2 separate regions of the Homo sapiens genome follow, and region 2 is linked to region 1. The links are contacts of gene promoters, found by promoter capture Hi-C in blood cells and fetal thymus (Javierre and others, 2016). All regions are on one chromosome and are shown on one strand. The core of a region is centred on a gene start or on the middle of the fragment in contact, and the rest is flanking DNA. Distances in the headings are between cores, read along the strand shown.

Evidence for each region. Contacts are between HindIII fragments. The CHiCAGO score rates a contact against its expected background, and 5 or more counts as called.
Region 2: a fragment that was not itself captured here is called in contact with the fragment with the promoter of NDUFS4 in region 1 in 1 of 17 cell types (endothelial precursors); the score reaches 5.2 in endothelial precursors.

Annotation. Positions count from the first base shown.
Region 1 is chr5:53,556,423-53,563,809 of GRCh38, reverse strand. It overlaps NDUFS4 (NADH:ubiquinone oxidoreductase subunit S4), which reads right to left and starts at 3,171. Exons shown (of 5, transcript NM_002495.4): 1 at 3,050-3,171. The coding sequence starts at 3,147. RefSeq lists an enhancer at 2,770-3,269. The HindIII fragment of the contact is 3,063 bases long and covers 3,023-6,085 here.
Region 2 is chr5:53,864,813-53,872,199 of GRCh38, reverse strand. No RefSeq gene overlaps it. Among named protein-coding and RNA genes, the nearest start is that of LINC02105, 49 kb to the right of the region's middle. The HindIII fragment of the contact is 6,686 bases long and covers 1-6,130 here.

The DNA.
Region 1 (7,387 bases), core at 1,922-4,421:
CAACTTAGGGATGGGCGCGGTGGCTCCCGCCTGTCATCCCAGCACTTTGGGAGGCCGGGGCGGGTGGATCACCTGTGGGTAGGAGTTTGAGACCAGCCTGGCTAACACGGTGAAACTCCATCTCTACTAAAAATAAAAAAATTAGCTGGGCGAGGTGGTGGGCACCTGTAATCCCAGCTACTCTGGAGGCTGGGGCGGGAGAATCGCTTGAACCCGGGAGGCAGAGGTTGCAGTGAACTGAGATTGTGCCACTGCACTCTAGAATGGGTGACAAGAGCGAAACTACATCTCCAAAAAAAAAAAAAATGTAGACAATTTAACCCCTTTTTTTGCCTCCTCACATTCGGTACAGGGAAATGAGAAGCACATGGAAACTGAGACCAACACTACAGCACAAGCTCAGTAAGTAACTAGATCAGCTCAATCACCCACATTACTAGATTTTTTCTCTCTTGTGTGTATGTGTTGTTGCATTCTTTGTTTTGCTTTTCACTGATGATATACTATAATTGAATTAATATGTTAATGTAGCAGCTAACAGCATCCTTCCTTTTCTTTTTTTTTTTTTTTTTTGTTTTTTTGAGACACAGTCTGGCTCTGTTGCCCAGGCTGGAGTGCAGTGGCGCGATCTTGACTCACTGCAAGCTCTGCCTCCCGGGTTCACGCCATCCTCCTGCCTCAGCCTCCTGAGTAGCTGGGACTACAGGCGCACGCTGCCACGCCTGGCTAATTTTTTGTATTTTTAGTAGAGACGGGGTTTCACCGTGTTGGCCAGGATGGTCTCGATCTCCTGACCTTGTGATCTGCCCGCCTCGGCCTCCCAAAGTGCTGGGATTACAGGTGTGAGCCACCGCGCCCGGCCCTTCCTTTCCTTCAGTTCCCTACTCCACTCCTTACCTTACTGATTCCACTTCCCATATTCTATTCAAATGATCTGAAATGTTACATGATTTGCAAATGTTTTTCTAAGCATTACAATAAAATGAATTTTAGATGTAGATTTTCCCATTAATTGGTTCTTTCTACTCACCTTTTTCAGATCCTCATTACTATCAAATCATAATGGAAAAAGAATGCTTAAGGATGAAGAACAAACAATATGTAAGGGAGAGGGTCTATAAATTTCCCTCAAATTAGGATGAACATGACAAGCTCTTAGGGTAAAAATGTGGCACAGAAAACAAATAAATGTGTTAATTTGTATTTAAAAAACGTCTTCCCTGGCATTAAGATTTTTTTTCAAGATTAAATGATTTATTTTCAAATCTCTTACATTTGCAGGCAAAAACTCTTAAGTTTGGATATGTAGTAACAATTATCATCAGAGTTTCAAAAATCTAATCTCAACTTCAATTACTATAATTGCTGACAAAATGGCTTTGACTTAAAATTACAGCCATGTTTTGATTAGCCATAAACCAGTGGTCCCTTCAAACTTGTTTTCAGTTCTGGGGCTACCATGAGTACATTATTATCTGGGAATGACAATTAATCCCTATAATCTGTACGGGAGGAAGGGCTAATCTTGGTCACCGCTATATTAACTCTAAGTTAACCAGTGAAGTATTTTACCTTAGAAAAATACTTAACCCAGCCTGACCAACATGGTGAAACCCCGCCTCTACTAAAAATACAAAAATTAGCCAGGTGTGGTGGTGCGCGCCTGTAATCCCAGCTAGTCAGGAGGCTGCGGCAGGAGAACTGCTTGAACCCGGGAGGCGGAGGTTGCAGTGAACCAAGATCACGCCATTGCACTACAGCCTGGGCGTCAGAGTGAGAATGTATCTCAAAAAAAAAAAGAGAAAGAAAAAGGAAAAATACTTTCCATATATGGAACACTTAATTACAAACATCATTTGCCTTTCCCCAATCTTAGCACCCTTACTTTTGAGTGACTCTATTCTATGTATTTAGTAATCGTTTAACTAATGCTTTCAAGCCTTTTCATAAGCCACGGACCCTACGGGACACTCTCTTCTTTCCCACCCAACACCCACTATATTTAAACCTTAATAAAACTCATCCTTAAAAATTCTTCCGAATTAACTCATCCTAATTCTCTGCATTCCATTTATATTTAACACTAAATCAATTAGCATTCTACTAGACCTTCCTTTCAACTTTTAACCACTTGCATCCACCTCCTACCCCCTTCAAATCTCTCCATCCAGTCTTTCCAATCTTTGTTCTAATATGTGTGTGTATGTACGTATAGCATTAGTACTATAATTTAAAAAACTCCAGGAAATTCTGAAAAATAGAAAATGGAAGGTTAATACAGCCAAAAAAAAAAAAATCATCACAAAAATGCTTCAAGGAAAAACAGTAACAACTCAATCAACTGACAACTGAATCTGACAATACTTTGGAAAAGTACTACTTTAGGTTCTCAAGGACGCAAAGAGCCCTCAACAACTCAATTCAATCCCTGAATTATTGTGAGGCTTTAACAAAATCCCTAGAAAACCTCCAGGCATTACCACCAGCCTTTTAAAAATTACCTTCCAATATTACTAGCAGTGATATTTTTACTAACACTGAATTCCAAACAAGTTTTCCTCCCAAGCAGACTGATGAATAAACAATCTTCCTATGCAGAAACCAAATTAAAACCACTTAAAACCATGGAAGGGATACAGTGATTTAACCCTTCTGTAAGGACTGGAGTGGTGGGCAAACAGGTGACAAATGGAAGGGATGCAGAAAGTGGAAACAGAAATCAGTGAGACTCCTCCCCTTCTCTGAGGGCTAAGGTTCAGCTTGCAGCTCCGGAGGCAAAACCTCCACGGACCCTCTCCCTCAGCGACAAGCCGAATACGAAAGCTTCCAGAAAACCACAGGTCCTCCTCCCCGGCCTCGCACTCACGCCCTCACTCGCCTGGCCAACGCCCATTGATAGCAGACAGTCCCTAGTCCGCCCGACTTCTCCCGAGAAAAGGGTCAACAGAGGACGCCTTCCCCGAGGCCTCCTCCGGAACTCAGCCAGCAGAGACTCCGCAAAAATGGAGGGACCCAAGAAGCTTGAAGAAAAGTGTGAAAATTCTATTACCTGGTCGGAACCCTGGAAACGGAAAGGGCAGCTACAGCCACTGCCCTTCTCCGCCACAACGTCTGCCTCAGTACCACTGACATTGACACCGCCGCCATCTTGCTGCAGGCAAACGCCAGGATGAAAGGACGGATCACCGCAAGGGACTAACTTCCTTCGTTCTCAAGCCAGTGCAATCGCAATGTTGCGAAATTCTTTGGGATTTTATTTTCTTTTTAATACTGGGGCTTAAAAAAAGAGGGGAAACGCTTAGTTTAAATAAGTAAGAAGAAAAATGTGCGGGAAGAAATGCAGAAGTGCATTAACTGTAAATATTACCACCATAAAGTGTAATCTTTACTGCTTGTTAGGACTGGTGTTTTACAATGATAACGAAAAGACCAAAATATACTTGCATATTTAAACACCTGCAACTCGTAATTTATTGAAGAAATTAGGATATTTGGGGCTGAACCCACTGGAAAAGCTGGAGAGCTCTTTGGGTCCTTGAGAACCTGCAGTAGTACTTTTCCAAAGTATTGCCAGATTCACTTTGCAAGCCCTCAGGACAGGGCTGTATTCAGTTTGATATTCTGTAGTAGTAATGTTCGTATTTTCCAAACGAAAAATCTGGATACGTGATCTGGCAAAGGATTATTTTTTGACATGTAGATTTATATGAAGAATCAATAGAACATAATATTTGATGTCACTGTTTCCCCAGTAAATCCTGAATGTGTGTGTGTTCATAATCCATAGACATGAAGAATGATATTAATGCTCCATGCATATAAAACAAAAATTATCTTCCAATACAAGTGTTGGAAACATGTTTGTATTGTGGACTTCCGACCTTAAAGAATAATGACTAACTGAATTATATAAAATAAAAAGCAGGTTAGTTTTGGGTTTTGTTTTTTAAGAAATTTGTTTAAAGAGTTAGTACTTTCCTGCTTTTAAAATTAAGCACATGAAAACATAACCTTCATTAAATAAATAGGAACAATAGGAGGATGGGGAATGACATAGTTTGGCATTATGGACCGTTAAAGGAAAACCCAGTACATAAGGGAAAGGGAGAAAGAAAGAGAAAAAGTCATACTCAGGGAAAGAAATGCACAAGATGAAGGAAGGCAAGGGAGAGATGCCTCAGAGAAAATTTTCTTTCAAACTTTTCATTTTGAAATAGTTATAGATTCACATGAAGTTGCAAAGATAGTACAGATGTCTTGTGTACCTGTTTCCCCCAGTGATTACATCTCGTATAACTCTAGTACAGTATCAAAGCCAGGAAACTGGCATTGATATAAAGTATTTGTGTAGTCCTATGTCATTCTACTACATATTTTGTGTAACCACCACCATGATCAAGATACAGAACTATTCCACCCTCACAAAGATCTCCCTAGTGCTAACCTTTTTGGTAACACCTGCCCTCCTAACCCTAGTGATCTCTGTTTCTGTTTTTATAATTTTGACATTTTGAGATGTTATATGAATGGACTCATGCAGTACATGACCTTCTAAGATTGGCTTCTTTCACTTGGCATAATGCACTTGAGACCCATCCAAGTTGTTGTGTTTATCAATAGTTCATTCCTTTTTTATTGCTGAGTAATATTCCATGACATGGATGTACCACAATTTGTTTAACCATTCACCTATTGCAGAACATTTTGATTGTTTCCCATTTGGGGCCATTACAAATAAAACTGCTGCAAACAATTGAATACAGGTTTTTATGTGGACAAAAATCTTCATTTCTCTGAGATAAATGCCCAGGAGTGCAATTGCCAGGTCATGTGATACATGTATGTGTCATTTTTTAAAGAAATTAAAAACTGTTTTCCAGAGTAACTGTAACATTTTACATTTCCTCCAGCAATGTATGAGAGATCCAGTTTCTCCATATCCTCACCAGCATTTTCTATTATTGCTATTTTTGTTTTAGCTGAGCTAAAGTAAATAATAAATGTGCAGTAATACCTCATCACAGTTTTACATTTATTCCCCTGGTGGCTAATAATGTTGAATATCTTTTCATGTTTTTATCTGCCATCTGTATATTCCATTCAGTTAAATGTCCTTATGTCTTTTGCCCATTTTCTAATTAGCATTATTTGGTTTTTTACCTGTACATTTTGAGAGTTCTTCATATATTAGATGTGTCTTTTGTCAGATGCATGATTCACAAATATTTTCTTCAATCTGTAGTTTGTATTTTCATTCTCTTGACAAGATCTGCCACAGAACAAATATTTTTAATTTTGATGAAGTCCAGTTTATTCATTTTTTAAATTTATGGATTGTGCTTTTGCTGTCATGTCTGAGAACTATTCTCTAATCCTGTATCCTAAAGATTTTATCTTGTTTTCTTTCAAAGGTTGTTTTAGTTTTGCCTTTTACATTTAAGTCTATGTAATTTTTGTGAGTTAAGTTTTCCATTAATAGGTGTGAGGTTTAGGTTCAGGTTTTTGCTTGTGGCTATCCAATTGCTCTAGCACTACTTATTGAAAAGTTTATCCTTCTTCCATGGAGTCCCTTTTGCACCTTTGTCAAAATATCAGTTGGCCATACTTGTGTGTGGCTATTTCTGGGTTCTCTATTTCAGAGAGAAATTTTAAGCCCAAGGGTGGCTTTGGTGTCTGGGTGAATTTTAATAAAGATTTTCTATGTGAAGGAATAATGGGATGTGTCCCAGTGTTCATAAGAGCAACTTCCTATAGCCCTGTTACTGGCCCTACCAACCAAAGCTCAACCTCTCCACCTAACACCTATTCTAGTCCCCAACTTCCATGGATCTGAATTCCCCAGGAAAGCCCCCGGTCTCTAGTCTCTTTGTCTTTTGTACAGCCCATAATCCAACATCAGCATTGCCAGAACCCTAGTGGAATCTTTGATTCCCTTCACTTTCTGCTGGATTCCCTCAGCTGCCCATTCCTGAGGTCCTTTCTGACCTTATATACAGGATATAGGTGTTAGAATGGAACAGAAATAACTTGGTATGTTCATTTATTTATACTATTTCACCTATACCACAGGCTGTACCATTAAGCTTAATAGAATGTCTAGGTCCAAGTGCCATTTTGTTATTTCAATGTGCTGCCCCAGAAGTTGTTAACTACTAGAGTCCACTTCTTTGCCTCTTCTCTAGTCATCCTCCTTGCCCTTCAGATCACAGCTGTGAGTCACATCCTTCAGAGTCACTCCCCATGGTAGAAACTACGTCTTACAGGCATTTTTCACCTCCGCCATCCTTGCTGACAGAGCCTGACTCCTATGATAGAGACTAAAGTTGCTGTATATTGGCTTTCCCATTAGCTCCTGCAGCTAGCACATGAACATGTCCAAAGCCAACAGGATCTGAAATCCCTTTTGAGAAAAAAGACTTCTGAAAAAAAAAAAAAAAAAAGACATACAAGAAGAAATACCTCTTTTCCTGCGTCTGAATGCAGTTATATGAGGACATAATGCCTAGAACTGTGGCATCTTCTGAACTAGAAGGGACAAGCATAAGAGCTTAGCTAACAAGAAGGGGTGGAGGAATAGAGAGAGGAAAAGAGCCTAGGGCTTAGTTGACATCATTGAGCCAATCCTGAACCGACTTTTAAACCAAACCTGATGAAAATACCTCCAAACTTCCTGTTACATGAGGTAATAAATGACTTAATTGTTTAAACCTCCATTAGTTAGATATTCTGCATCCAAAAACATCTTTTCCTATGCTCTTACATGAAAAATACTTCTCTGACTTCCCTTTATGTCAGCTCTTTCTGTAGACTCTCCTAGCATCACATCTTCCTTCTTCGTAGCACCTCTCATGTCTCAGTTTTAATACACTATCATTGTCACTTTCTCTACAATGTAAAGTAAGTTATCTGAAGACAAGGATCATATCTGATTTTGATTATCATTTTCCCAGTATCTAGCCTAGTCCCTCACATATAGCAGCCTCCAAAGGATGTATGGAATAAGTGAATGAAAGTAACTGGAACTTTTAAAATGTCAAAAAAATGAAAAAAAACAGTGCTATCTCTATTTGCTATTTTGCTTAGGAAAAGCTCATACAAATTAATGTGATTGCTGTCTTGGGTCTATAGATCTTATTGGTTTCTAAAATTTCATCTTTGATCAGTTGCCATTTCCTGAAGAACTTGGTGAGATATTGGGGACAGGAGCTCCACGTTGCTGGCAAGAGATCGGAAAAGATAAATTTACCTTTTACTGGGCTTGCATTAAAAAAATGTAATAACCTCTTTCATTTCCTTTTTTCTTACATTTCAAATAAGGATATAGACCTGAGAGTGGAACAGAAATAATTTGCTGTGTGCATTTTTTTATAACTTCAACCAAACTATG
Region 2 (7,387 bases), core at 1,538-4,037, 310 kb before region 1:
TATATAGGTTAAATGAAATACTATAAGAAAAAAAAAACACTTGGCACCTTGTCTGCCCAGTAGTAGATGCTTAATAAATACTAGCTCTTACAATGGCTGTAGTATGGTAGCTCTTACACACTAAATTGTTAGTTACTGCAGTTGCTCACCCTGGTGTCCCACCATATGACGATGCTGATGCAGTATTGCTGTGTGTACTCTACTTTGCCTGCTGACCTCCCCTTAGCTGACTTCCCCTTTCTGTGATGCATGCAAACTCAGAGGGAAGATATACCAGTCCTTCTCTAATGCAGAGCACTCTTGTTGGACTGATCACTCATAAATCGCTGCTGTCTTATAGATGCAGGTTCCATATAGGGCACCCATCCTTAGTCCCATGGACTATGGCCAGGAGAGCAGGGTCACATGGAACAAAGCATAAAAAACTCCTTGAAGGAGGCCACAGGGGCATGGCAATCCCTTTGATACTTCCCAGCAAGGGGCAAAATAATGAGCAGACACCTTGCTCTGGTAACCCATGACGAAGTCTGGCTGCCCTCTAAGATGGTTTTTGAAACTTTTGGGAATTAAAAAAATAGGTCCTTTTAATGATTTTGATGTCTACTGGGGATCAGGAAGGTGTGTAAGTACACTTCCTTAAATACAACACAACCCTGAAATCATAACACAACCTTTTAAATTCTCAGAAAAAAAACTACACATTGATATTGACATTATACTCTTGACATTGAAATAGCATTACTCCAGTAGACGTCCAGCAAGGTTTCCAAGGGCGTGGTCTGTAGACGACTAGCAAAACAACAAAAAAAGAGAGCCTGGAATACTCTTACAGTGCAGATTCCTGGGCCATGCTCCTAGATCTACTGAATCAGAATCTCTGTGAATGGGAGGCCTAGGAGTCTGTATTTTAACAAACTCCCCAGGCAATTCTGACCATCACTTTTTAATTGTTTGTGGGCAGCAGAGGGCAGAAGAGGGTGGACAATGATGAAGGAGAATTCAGAATAGGGAAATTTGTTTTTTCTAGGTGCTAATAAACTCAACCCGTAACAGCTGTGTTCTTCCTGAAGTTGTGGTTGAGCATTGCCCGGGAGTTGGAGTATGCAGGTCTTCTGTAGTTTTGGGGCTCTGTGTGCCACACTGCTGTGTTGCCCTTTGGAAAAGTCCTTCTGGAACTGGAATGAGGATTTGGATCTGAGGAAGAGGAACAGGGTCATACTGAGGACTCTGAAGAAAAACAGTTTATGACTCAATGGAGAAGATTATGGTATGCTCTAAGCCAACAGATATGAAACTATGTTATACCTACCCTTGTGTTGTAGGAAGATGTTCCAGTGGACACAAGGCAGGATAGTTTTATGGAAACCAATTGCTATATCTTCAACTCACATAGATATTTGTTCCTACAATTGGTCTGCCAGAGATTAGGTTGGCGTTTTTCCCCTTCGCCTTTCCTTCTTCTTCACAACCCGTCTTCTCCCACTTTGGAAAAGAAAGACCTTTTATCATCCCTTGGAATTGATCAGGCCCCCAGTGACCTGAGAGCTGAAAGACTGGCGGTGTTATGGAAGGAAAGGCAACTGGCAGAGTGACTCTCCTGAAAAGAAATTAATGCTTTAACCAAATGCCACTATGCACTACAACAACCTTCCATCCTTATCTTGTCTCAAAGACTCCTGATAACTTGCATTTTCACAGTTACTCTGGCCAAATCATCCAAGTTATCTGAGTGTCAAATAAAAGCAAAGAACAAGGGATTCTCCAAATTGTGAAATGCATTCACATTAGAATGCATTCATGACCCCACCACCTCCTTGCAGTAGACAGGGGCTTGTCATCCTAAGCAGGAATAGGGGGCTATTCTCCCACTTCAATACAGTATCTACAGTATGGGGCTGGAAAAGTCATCAAAGGTATTAGGGGTGTTTACTCCACATTCCTATCTATCTACTGGCCAATTAACATGATTTGCAGCTGAGAAAATAATACTCTTGTCCGTCAGAGATAAATAGGGTCCCCAAACTGTGAAACAAAGGGGAGAGGAGCAATGATGTTTATAAAAGTTATTGCAAACCCAAATGCACTTCAAAAGGAGCTGTGGTGACAGATTCTGTTTCACAGGGTCCTCTCAATTCTTCTCAGCCTCTCAAGACCCTTCCTCAGACTCAGCTGGGTGTTTTCACCACTGGCCTGCTGCTTCAAGATGTAGTGCAATGTGTGGAATTAATCTAGTCTATAGCCTAGCCCTGCTCTGTCCAATACAGTAGCTATTAAACACTGGAAAGGTGGCTAGCCCCAACAGAGGTGTGTGTGTATATAAAACACACACCAGATTGCAAAGACTTAGCACAAAAAAAGTGAAATATCTCATTTTTAATTTTTATATTGATAATATAAAATGGAGCTATTTTGGATATGTTGGATTAAATAAAATATATTATTAAAATTTATTTCACCTGTTTCTTTTTACTTTTTTGCACTGTGGCTACTAGAAAATTTAGAATGACATGTGCCTCCCATTGGTGGCTCACATTATATTTCTATTGGACTGTCTGTCAGTCTGGACTGTGGGTTGAGCAGCCTCAGGGACAGGTTGATGGGGATGTGGAAGTCCAGGCCTGATTGGTAAAGGAAGTTGGGGTGATTTGGGGCTGGCAGTGACCCCTCTTGCTGAAAAGAGGTATATTTGTGACAATTGCAGCATGTGGAGCCCAGCCTAACGGATTGTAATCCTGCCTTCCTTCTGGTTCTAATACTTAACCTCAAAGGAACCTTAATATTTAAACCAAATGGCATGTGAGATTTCAGTAAGCTGATGGATTGCTCTCCACTCAGCCATTTGAGAAATCCTACTGAGGTCTCTGCACAGCTGAGTTCCAGTTGCCTCCATATCCCAATGAAAGTCTGGCACAGCACTGATGAGCTGATGAGATTTTTTTCACTTGTTTGATATTAAATAGGAAAGCCTTTCGAATTAAACGTTTACAGATAGTGTGAAAATTGGAAGTGTGAGTTTTAGCTGAGCCAACTACAGCAGATCGAAAGACTGCACTTGCCTGCTGGTGAGAGAACAGTGCTTCTGGCTGCCATTGTTAGCTCCACCACCACTTTGGGGAAGTGGGAGCTGGTTGCCAGCTTACTCCTTTCCAGAGGTGAATTACTCATATACTGAGTCCACCAGGCTTACGCTATTGTGGGTACAACTCTGTTCTAAACATCATTACCTATGACAGCAACAACTTACTGGCCCAAGCCAAGAATTTAGAGCTTTTGGATGATGAGGCTGAGCCCATTTCAGAACTTGATGCCAGACATTATGCAGGGCCTCTGCATGGGTCCCTCAAATAATAATGACAACAACAATAGTAATAACAGCAAATACATATGGAGCACTTGCTCTGTGCTTTAAATATATTAGCTCACTTCATCTTCAGCCCTATATGACAGAAAGCGTTTTTTACAAAATATTATTCTGTTTTGTTGTTTTGATTTGTTTTTTAAGTTGCCTAAGGTGACATAGTAAGTGGTAGAGCCAGCTGCAAACCCAGGGTTTCTGACCAAAGCCCACACTCAGAACCATACTGCCATTCTTACAGAGAATAAATATTAAAATCTCAGCAGTGATTGTCAGAAATGGCAAAATGACAAATTAGAACATCTTCAGTCATTCAGGGGGACATTGATTCACATGTATGTGAATCAATGGCCCAAAGGTAAATGCTTTTTATTCCAATATGGCTTTTTGGACAAAAAGGACCAGACCAAGTCTGATACAAGTGATACTAGTAAAGATATGAGTGCACACAGACCTACCTGAGAATGGCTTCCAGAGTTTATCTTAGTAGAATCTTCCTAAAATTGGAGGTCACACGGCATAGACAAGGCAATCTTTCTTTCACTATGAAACTCTTTCTTCAAATAAAATCACGTCCTTAGATTAAATGTAGGTATACAAAGGAGAGCTACTCAGACCTCCATGAGCTCAGCTTTTTTTTTTTTTGAGACAGACTCTCCCTTGCTCTGTCACCCAGGCTGGAGTGCAGTGGCGCAATCTCGGCTCACTGCAACCTCGGCCTCCTGGGTTCAAGTGATTCTCCTGTCTCAGCCTCCCGAGCAGCTGAGATTACAGGTGCACACCACCATGCCCGACTAATTTTTTGTATTTTTAGTAGAGACGGGGTTTCACCATGTTGGCCAGGCTGGTCTTGAACTCCTGACCTCAGGTGATCCGCCCGCCTCGGTCTCCCAAAGTGCTAGGATTACAGGCATGAGCCACCACTCCCGGCCGAGCTCATCTATTTCAGCTCCCACAGTATGGCCCTAGGGAAACATACACACAGCCCATTGGCCACGCCAAACAATGCAAAACTACTGGGGAACTGGATTAGGAGATCTAGAGTTGAATTCTACTTCTGCCACTTAACCACTCACATGGGCCTCACTTAGCCTTTGTTCAGTCATTCCTCCCATTAGGTAGCTAAATTCAACCACAATTCCTTAGAAAAAGAAAGTTGATCAAATTGAGCTTTCCTAGAAAGAATCTTCTCTCAGTCCATGTGTGAAAAAGGGAAAGTCTTGTCTTACTGGTTTTTGTTTTATTTTGTTTTGTTTTTTTACCATGCCTCTCTTTCTTGAATTGGAGTAAATAGCCAATCCCTAAATTGAACTCTTACCTCTGCCAAAGTTCCTTGCCTTACCAATTCCCTGTGGAGGGTGAAGTAGACCATGGCAAAGGTTCTCCAAATGACTCTTTCCTGAAAAGAAACACAGAGCAGTGGGAAAGAGCACGGGGAAATCAGAGATTGAGCAAGGATCGAAGAGGAACCTGAGAGCTAAATGCACCGTGGAGCTGCCCCTGCAGTCAGAAGACTTTTTAGAGAGGCAAAGGAATTTCTTTTGCACACCCCTTCACCAGCCATAAACTTCCTTTTCTTTTCCAAAATTCCCCAAGAGGACATATCAGGAAGTGGGTGCTGTGAACTATTGGGCTCCATGGAGAAAACTTATCTTTTTAAATCAATAGAAAGTGCCTATGGATGGATGAACAGAAAGAACAACATTTAAGAAGGCTTTAGAATGAAAGAGAATCCTTCCCTTAGCTGAGGAGCTTATAGAAGAGCAAGATTAGAGCTACTGCCGGATTAACTTTCCACTTCCATTGCCCTTGTGCCGGCCTGTCATATCTGATACCAAATTAGAACAAGAGGAGCTTGCTACATGGTGTCTTCCATGAGGCACCATGCTCAAGACTGTCAAATCTACAAAAACAAATACATATATAAAGCCTTAAAGCATGGATCCTGATTTGAGGGGTTTGCTGGGAATTTAGACATAGAAAACTGAAACCATGCAGGGTGATGAGAGGAGCTGTGATAACTTTTTAGGGTACATGTGCTGTCATTCAGAGAGTGCACATGCCCAGTTCTCTAGAAGGATTTCAAACTATGATAAGATAGATGGAGAGTTGTGCGGTGTGTTAGGTGCAGACCAAGAGGGATACCTAAAGCCTCTGTCCTCTTGGAGTGCACACACCTGTTTTTCATAGATCCCTTCCTGGCTTCCCATGAACTGGTCACCCTTTCTGTGGATTTCATTAATCCTTCTGGGCCTGCCATGTCTTACTTTTCAAAGAATCGCTGTTGGCTATAGTACATACAGAGTCTCTTCAATAACTTGTCTAACTCTTGAATCTTTAACTTTTAAGTAACTTATTAGGTTTGATGCAAATAGAGGGAGAAATTGTGTTAGCCTGTTGTCAATACACTGTGCTGAGGACATTCCCCAACATGTGTTAATTCTGCAGCTCACTTAACTTTTCCAGATGTGGCTGGCTGGGCTGCCAAGTTGGTGACATTGCAGATGGATGGCCACAGCCTCACTGTAGGCAGATGAACATGGGTACCTTTGATGTGATGGGGTGACTCTTTTCATCTATTAGCCAGAAGGAAAAGCTATTTTCTTCTGTAGAGTTCTCAGTTCACTCCCACCTCAAGGAGACTGTATAATCCTCAGCATACTCTAGTACTCAGGACTGGGGTCTGGGGCTCTCATCCCTACCCACTGAGTGTGTAGCTAGTAGCTCCTGTCAAGTCAGAATAAAACTAATCCAAGGAGAGCTGTAAGAGAAGCTTCAGAGAAGGCTGTTTTCTTAAAGGGGGATGCTGTTTCATATATGAAAATGGTTGCATTTCACCTGTTTAATCAAATGTCATCCTAAGCACAAAAAACAAGGCACCCATGTCCTTTACACAGTAGATATATTTTATACTCCCTATATCCACATCGTGCATATACAAATTTCAGAGTATAACGACTCTTCTACTCCAGGGAGGAAATCAGTGATGATCAAAATCTAAGCAAGAGAAAGTGCTCTTTAGCCTTCCATCTTCCTGGCAGATAAAGGTAGTAAAAGAAGTTTCAGGTTTTCTTCTTCAGCAGGATGGGGACCTTCTTTAACAAGAAGGAGAACATATACATTACAGCCTTCGTTTAAAATATGCTCCATTATTTGGTATGTAAGCAAATTATTGAACCTCTAGACACTTTGGTTTCCTCATCTGGAAAACTGGAGTAATACTCACTCTGTAGGAATATGGTGAGAGCAAAGACCACATATGTAGAGCCACAGCATAATACTTGCCACATAATGGGTCCTCCATATTTACAGCCATTTGTAACAGTATAATGGAAATCCTTTTTTTGCTTCTAGTTCAGTACAAGGTTCATAAGACTGGTCATTAATGAACCTATAGAAGCTTGGATGTTTAGAAGTTACATTTGGGCCAGGCGCGGTGGCTCACGCCTGTAATCCCAGCACTTTGGGAGGCCAAGGTGGGTGGATCACCTGAGGTCAGGAGTTCAAGACCAGCCTGACCAACATGGAGAAATCCCGTCTCTACCAAAAATACAAAATTAGCCAGGCGTGGTGGCACACGCCTGTAATCCCAGCTACTCAGGAGGCTGAGGCAGGAGAATCACTTGAATCCGGGAGGTGGAGGTTGTGGTGAGCCAAGATAGTGCCGTTGCACTCCAGCCTGGGCAACAAGAGCAAAACTCCATCTTAAAAAAAAAAAGAAAAAAGAAAAAGAAGTTACATTTGAAGACTGATGCAAGGCCCACAACACAGAATTTGATGAGGCCAGTGGCTATTTTATTTGAGGAGGATTATCTTGTCCCAGCCTTTTTCTCAGATTGACAGTAAATTAAAAACTATATTTGTGCCTGGCGTGGTGGCTCACACCTGTAATCCCAGCACTTTGGGAGGCTGAGGAGGGTGGATCATGAGGTCAGGAGATTGAGACCATCCTGGCTAACACGGTGAAACCCCTTCTCTACTAGAAATACAAACAATTAGCTGGGCACGGTGGTGGGCGCCTGTAGTCCCAGC